Regions from separate parts of the Homo sapiens genome. Here region 1 is linked to region 2. The links are contacts of gene promoters, found by promoter capture Hi-C in blood cells and fetal thymus (Javierre and others, 2016). All regions are on one chromosome and are shown on one strand. The core of a region is centred on a gene start or on the middle of the fragment in contact, and the rest is flanking DNA. Distances in the headings are between cores, read along the strand shown. Region 1 has its middle 38 kb from the start of LINC01549. Region 2 holds the start of C21orf91-OT1 (C21orf91 overlapping transcript 1).

What was found. The method cuts DNA at HindIII sites, captures the fragments that hold promoters and counts their contacts. A CHiCAGO score of 5 or more calls a contact.
Region 1: a fragment that was not itself captured here is called in contact with the fragment with the promoter of C21orf91-OT1 in region 2 in 2 of 17 cell types (M0 macrophages and M1 macrophages); the score reaches 5.4 in M0 macrophages.

Annotation. Positions count from the first base shown.
Region 1 is chr21:17,398,614-17,402,264 of GRCh38, reverse strand. No RefSeq gene overlaps it. Among named protein-coding and RNA genes, the nearest start is that of LINC01549, 38 kb to the left of the region's middle. The HindIII fragment of the contact is 9,913 bases long and covers 1-3,651 here.
Region 2 is chr21:17,789,725-17,793,758 of GRCh38, reverse strand. It overlaps C21orf91-OT1 (C21orf91 overlapping transcript 1), which reads left to right and starts at 1,250. Exons shown (of 4, transcript NR_038871.1): 1 at 1,250-1,282. C21orf91 (chromosome 21 open reading frame 91) reads left to right here. Exons shown (of 5, transcript NM_001100420.2): 5 at 178-4,034. The coding sequence ends at 344. All of the region lies in intron 2 of LOC124900465 (a long non-coding RNA gene), which reads right to left. The HindIII fragment of the contact is 3,892 bases long and covers 1-3,459 here.

The DNA of each region.
Region 1 (3,651 bases), core at 729-3,228, 390 kb after region 2:
TGAAAACAGATTTCTTATACCCTGCCCTATGCATGATAGAAACGTGTCTCAACCGACATGGTTCTATCAAGCATAGGACAGAGAAACTTCCATTTCCCACTATTGCCCCAAAGGTCTGGCTAACGCTGCTCTCTTTAAGAAGCTGCTAACATCTCTAGCTTAAGCAATGTGCAAAACAACTGATGCGAATAAAACGCCTTCCTCCAAGGCCTCTTTTATACACAATTCATTTTCTGGAGTAACATAACCTAGAGATAGCCCCGCAGGTCAACCAGTGGAACATTGGTAACTTCAGTGCCTCAGTAAAGCAACGAACAAGATTTAATGGAAATTAGGCACATTTTTATGGTAAATCAGTTCCATTTGTGAGATTTGCTCACACAGTGTCTAAGAAACCATGATAAGCTAGCAAACTACATTGACAATTGATTCCAAAATCTGCTGTCATATTCTCCTTCCTTCTGACGTGGCATGTTTCTCTCTTAGATGGCAAAATTATAGATCCCTGGGATTCTAGGTAGGAAGAAATAATTTTAAATGTAGGTTGCATAGCAACTTTTTGGGTTTTAGCAAAGCATCTTTGACATTTCTGCCTTCAGAGAGGAACCTAAGGACAATACAAAGGAGGAAAGAAACAGAAAAAACAGTCTCGTTTTTATTTCTAGACTTGCCAATGAAGTGTTAGACAATTTCCTTATTTTCTATTTGATTCCCCAAACACCCAGCCTTTCCTTTTACACTCACCCTTTAACTTTTTTTTTTTTTTGAGACAGGATCTTACTCTGTCACCCAGGCTGGAGTGCAGTGGTGTGATCTCCGCTTACTGTAACCTCCGCCTCCTGAGTTACAGCGATTCTCCCACCTCAGCCTCCTGAGTAGCTGGGACTACAGGTGCGCACCACCACACCTGGCTAATTTTTGTATTTCTTGGTAGAAACAGGATTTCACCATGTTGGTCAGGCTGGTCTTGAACTCCTGATCTCAAGTGATCCACCTGCCTCAGCCTCCCAAAGTGCTGGGATTACAGGTGTGAGCCACTGTGCTCGGCCCTTTAACATTTTTTACTTAAATAAAAAGCAGAACTTTTATTGAGAGTTCCTTAAAATAAAAGTAAAGCCTATTAGCTCATTCCTAAATCACAGAATAATATAGTTATATAAATCTGTGGCACGCAAAAATACAGTTTTCATACACAATTGCATTGTGTATGAAATTGCAAGCTAAAGCTAGTGAATTGCAAGCTAAATTGTGAATTGCATTGTGTATGAATTGCATTGTGTCTGAAATTGCAAGCTAAAGCTGGTGAATTGCAAGCTAAAGAGTAAAGTGCATGGATAGAAATAAGACCCACTGCTAATAAGCTGTAGTAAGTTGGAAAAGGCTATTGATCTCTGTGAACAGTTTCTATATCTGTAAATTGGGGTTACTGGTTTTAAGTGCCTCTAATATTCTAGGCCCTAAGATTTTTGTGTATTCTATTCTATACAAATGCAAGATCATAATATAGACAATACCCAAGAAGAAAAGATGAGGAATTCCTGGTTATAATCTGCTAATTTATTTGTCTGTTGTATGGCTTATGGTTTTTCTTTACTGCGTTTCCTAAAGGGACACAAGTGAATTACTATTGTCCTGTAATTTCTGTTTAGAAACCCTTTTCAAAGAGAGAAATCCTGCTAGCTCTCACTGGCCTTTGATTTGACAGTGTCACCGAAAAAAAATATATATCTGCCGGTGATTTAACAAAGTCCAGACTCTTGAGTGAAAGGGCAGAACCCAGGGGGTTGATCTGATTTTCCAGATCCTTTAATGTGAATTGAATGCAAGCTCACAAGGATGTCTTTCATTGGCTAACATCTTCCCTTTCTTCTCATATCCCAAATAAGAGGAGACAGTGCAGAACCTGGGTCATGTGAAAGGGAAAGTAGGCATGCCTGCATACTCTTTCCCCATGCCTCAAGAAATAAGAGGAAAGAGAGTTCTGTGTTTGTTGATTGCCTTACTGAAGTAAGCCACTTACTGTGGTAAAGCATATGTGAAGGCCTTACTGTTTTATCTTTTCTTTCTTTCTTTCTTCTTTCTTTCTTTCTTTATTTCTTTCTTTCTTTCTTTCTTTCTTTCTTTCTTTCTTTCTTTCTTTCTTTCTTTTCTTTCTTTCTTTCTTTCTTTCTTGCCTTTCTTTCCTTTCTTTCTTTCTTTTCTTTTGTTTGACGGAGTTTCGCTTTTTTGCCCAGGCTGGAGTGAAGTTGAAGTGGTGTGATCTCTCAGCTCACTGCAACCCAACCTCCACCTGACGGGTTCAAGCAATTCTCCTGCCTCAGCCTCCTGAGTATCTGGGATTACAGGTTTACGCAACCACACCCGGCTAGTTTTTGTTAGAGATGGTGTTTTGCTATGTTGATAAGGCTGGTCTCGAACTCCTGACCTCAGGTGATCCACCTGCCTCAGCCTCTCAAAGTATTGTGATTACAGGCATGAGTCACGGTGCCTGGCTGGGCCTTACAGTTTTTACTTTACAGATAGAGAAACTGAGGTATGGCATGATTAATACCTAAAAAATTACACAGCTAGACACTTGTGGAGTAGGAATTCAGTCCTAGATGTGTCTCTACTGCCTCCCCTAAATGCTGGGTCCATGGTGCCATAAAAGCAGGGGGCATCCCATGGCCTGTAGCAATTGTTGACAGTAAGTTAGATTGTTTCTCTGTTTTTAAGTTCAAGGATGTGAGTTGAATTAGTAAATGTTTTATAGTGGAGTCTATTAAAAAAAAAACGCGCAGCTAGGCATGGTGGCTCATGCCTGTAATCCCAGCACTTTGGGAGGCCGAGGTGGGTGGATCACCTGAGGTCTGGAGTTGGAGACCAGCCTGGCCAACATGGCAAAACTCCATCTCTACTAAAAATTAGCTGGGTGTGGTGGTGCACATCTGTAATCCCAGTAACTTGGGAGGCTGAGGCAAGAGAATCACTTGAATCCCGGAGGTGGAGGTTGCAGTGAGCTGAGATTGCACCACTGCACTCCAGCCTGGGCAACAGAGCAAGACTCTGTCTCAAAAAAAAAAGTTATAGGCCGATGCAGTGGTTCATGCCTGTATTTGCAGCATTTTGAGAGGCCGAGGTGGGAGGATTGCTTGAGATAAGGAGTTTGAGACCAGCCTGGGCAACACAGCAAGACCCTGCCTTTAGAAAAAATTAAACAATTAGCTGCAGTGAGCCACGATTGCATCACTGTACTCCAGCCTGGGCAATAGAGTGAGACTCTGTTAAAAAAAGAAAAAAAAGGTGCTTTGAACACCTTCATTAGGAATTTGTGCTGACTGAATTTTTTTGTAACTCTCAATTTTTTTTTAATGGCTTTAAAAGTAAGTGATGCTCAGAGAAGATAAGAAAATATGTACCTATAGTAGAGAGTTTGAGGGCAGGGGGTCCATATCTACCAGGAGGCAGCCTCTGATAACAGTCTTCACACAGGGCTTTGCACAAGTATATCACTGATGAAATTTAGAAAAAAAAAATAGCCTTTTCCCAAACCCCTGAAGGAGGTAAGTCAGTGATGAAGAGGTATTAGCAACACCGTATTTTCTTTAGGCCTAATCAGAACATGTTGGCTAAGATTTCTGAAAATCAAATTACAAACAGGTATTTGGTGCC
Region 2 (4,034 bases), core at 1-2,500:
GCCTAGGATGATCAGAACTGATATGCTTTGTAGAGAACAGAACTGTTTCCTTGGTATCAAATCAGTTTCATTGTGACACTTTGCCCAATGCATAGATTTCAGTTAGAGTTCTTGAAATATAAATCATAGCACCGGCTTTCTGCATACTAAAAATGAAAGTTTTTAAATCTTTTACAGAAGTTTTTGAAGAGTTAACTCACCAAGTGCAAGAAAAAGATTCTTTGGCCTCACAGCTCCATGTCCGCCACGTTGCCATCGAACAGCTTCTGAAGAACTGTTCTAAGTTACCATGTCTGCAAGTAGGGCGAACAGGAATGAAGTCGCACCTACCCATAAACAACTGACCTAAACAGACTTACTTCGTATGCCCTGCCCTTTATTGGTCTCCCAGACATGCAAACTTTGAAGAAGTTTGAAGAAAGTTGTGGTCCGTTTTTTTATGGTCATTAAATTTGCCAAACATAAGGCAGTATTTAACATCTTTGTCAAATAAAGCAGATCATTATACTCTAGTCTTCTAGGGCTAATCATTTTGGCTCATTTGGGGACTCTTTTTTCCCAGAATTACTAAACAAATTTTATCACATGTGACTACTTAAATATACTGTTACAGTGTCATTTTATTAAACATTTTAATTCACCTGTCAAAACAACAGATTAACTCCTTAGTGTAAACTACTAGAGATAATTTTTAAGAGGGAAATGGAATTCATATCACCTCTTATTTATTATGAGCAATATTTTAATATAAAAATTTTATATGTGAAAATGCTATTTTAGGTACTTTGCCATTCTCTTTATAAATGTGTATTTGAGTGGTTCTGTATATTTATTTACATTATCATGTGTGAATATGTTCACCCATATTTCAGGTCACTGCATTTTATTCTCTTAATACAATGTTTTCACAACGGTTACCTTGCTTTCCAAAGATAAATATATTTTGGATTAGAAATCTGAGTTGTTTTAATTTCTAATACCTCTTGTAAAAGAAGAATTAATAACTTTTTAAAGCAGTATTCAGGTAAATACAATACATTATTTTGTTTTCTAACAAAAGCAGTTCTTAGTTCAGGAAGAAAAGACTAATCTGGCTTCTATGTCAATTTGTCTCCATAGAAATGAAAGCCTCCTCTTGCTTCTTTCATTATTAGCTTCACACCAGTGACTGTGATGCATTAGAATTTGGACAGAGTAAGTCAAGCCTCACTTCCAATTCAAATATAATGTCTATCTTCAAATTGAGTGTGCTGTGAAATTGTTCTGTCTTTGAAAAAAAAAAGTAAGATTATTTTGTGTGCCACTTTGGGTAAAGTTTCAAGAATACTTAAACTGTCCAAATTGTATTATCACCATCATTGAACTTAGTGCTCAAAGAAAGCATTGTGAGGTATTTTTCTAAACTTTAGACTCTATAGAGAAATATAGGATTGTTCTACAGAAGAAAAGCAAAACTCCTAATTAAAAAAAAATAAACCTATGTATTAAGAGAATGTTCTCGTAAGTTGCCTATGATGCTTCCAAAGAGTTTTTATCTAACAGATTGTGCCAAACAGCTAGATAAATTTTAATAATGTATTACAGTAAAGGCTATAACCAATGCAGAATTAAAATGGGCTCTAAATTCTGTTTTTAACTCATGTTTAGAATGTACTTATGAGGTAGATCCTTGCTTGAAAGTATCTGCTGAAAAGCCCAGTAACGTGGCAGCTTCATGCATAAAGATATAAATGACATTTGCCTTAAATTTGGCAGCCTACCCTGGCTTGGGTCAGATTTTGTTGTTGAACACAAGAAAGTATTTAAGCAAAGAAACACTTCAGTTTAATTGAAAACAACTTTTTGTAATGCTGACGTGTTAAATTGGCCTGAGGGTATTAATTGATATCTGTTGATTTTGTTTTTCTTTGAAGTATAACATTACTTTTTGGAGGGAATTTTTGAAAGATGCTTTCGATTTCTCTCAATTCTTTAAGTCATGCAAAATGAATTTAAAATCCAGGGAGTATGGATGCATTGCCTTAGTTTTGATGAGCTTTAAATTAAATGTGTGCAATATCAAAATATTCAAACTTACAAGCTGGGTAAATACATTTCCTGATTAATATCTTAGTGCTTAATTGTTCCCACATTTTCAAATTTGACTTTACTCTTTTTTGGCGTAATTCAGTAAGATTGTTACCAGCCAGTGTGTTTGCACACATTTGGGTTTGTGTTTAGATGAGTTAGGGACAGTCATAAAAGTTGGGGATATGTTGCATTTGATATCAATAGTAGCATATTTCCAGAATATGAGCCATAAGTTGCAGTCCTGAATACAACAGTGTTATCCAAAGAAAGGAGTTTTCTGACAAATATACATAGCTTTGCTAATGAGTACGGAACAAGTGGATGAACGTGTGCATGTGCTAAGGTCTTAAGTGGGACTCTGATTTATTCCATTTAGATATTTCTACTTAAGCTCTAAAAAGGAGAGGTGCTCTTAAAAAAAACTTTGTGGTGCTGGTACTCACACTACTTTATTTGGATGAGTTCCTAGTAAAAAAAACTTTTTGTTGAAGTATTTTGCACAGCAGTTTATCCAAATGTTTGGTAAACTTATAATTTAGTCCTATGTTAGTTTTCTTAATCAAATATGCAATTACTGTGTATGCAAATATAAGTATCAGGTACAGAGTTGAGTTCTAACAAGAGAACATGAAATATCACAAATATTGTTTTCCACACTTGGCTATTCTCTACAGTTGTTAGTAATTTTTGAGAATGTTTTGAAGCATATCTCATGTACTACTGTTTAAAAAGTGGCAAAACAGACTGCCAGTCATCCATTACTAAATTTTCAGAGCTTATATGATTAAGGGGAGTGAGATAAGACAAATCTTTTTCACGTTCAGTTTTATAATTTGACACGTTAAATTGAGTTTTAAAAATTAGAAAAGTGTTTTTGACCACACAGGTTGTTCTCTTTAAAGTTCAGCCTTATAATGAAGCTAAAAATCAATTATGTTTTACTTTGAGATTATCATCTTATCCTTTGATCCTCATATTAATATCTAAATTAGTCTTTTTTAAAAGGCATGCACTTGAGACTCCAGTAATAGATGATTCAGGCAGCAGAATAGTGTTTTGTTGTGTCGTTGACTATGCACAATGGTGGAGCAAAGACACATTCTTAGTTTTTCAAAACACATGTTCATTTTACCACAAAGTGCCCATTTTTATATACATTTAAGGATTATTTTTTCAATGTCAAGTTCATGTTAGTGATTTCAGAAATATAGTCAAAATATATAGTCAAATATATCTTGACAGGCATCTTGAGATTTGGTTTTTCATTTTACTATATTTATGACTGAAAATGGTTTTGTGTTTTCTTTATGTTGTTTATATATTTTTTACCTTAGTGTTTACACTGGTAAGGCTTGTTAGTCCATTTTTGTAGTTTTTTTAAAGTAAGCTTTTAGATCTATTTGTGTTTTAATGTTTCCCAGTTTGGGTTTTGTTTTGTTTTGGAAGAATCTGCTTTCATTATTAAATTATAAAATGTAAATGCTCTAAAGTAGGAATTTTTAAAGAGTAAATTATTTGTGTAGCTTATTAGGAGGTTCAGGTTAGTGACCATAAAGTGGGTTACTTGTACATGAAAATTTGAAATGGTACCATGTAAAATTCTTCTATTGTCAACTTTTTCTGATGTATGCCAGTTCATTTACTGACAAATGTTGTTACTAAGTGCTTATTAAGAAGTGTAATACGCTATAAAAAAGTTAATACTTTTTGTTCAGATGTAAGGCAAAGATAATTGATGCCGTTTCAGTGTATGATTGTATTTTTAACTTTTACGTTGGTGGGAGTAACTATTTGAGGAAATTTGTGGTGAGAATTAGTAAGAGATAAAACCCCCAACAGTTTATTCTTACCAAGTAAAGTTTTGTGGTCATGGGGCAGGGAAGAGTTTATTTACCAGAATACTAGAGCCCTCACACAAAATAAAGGTAACTTGGAGGAGGGCTATAATGCTTGCATCTCAGTAT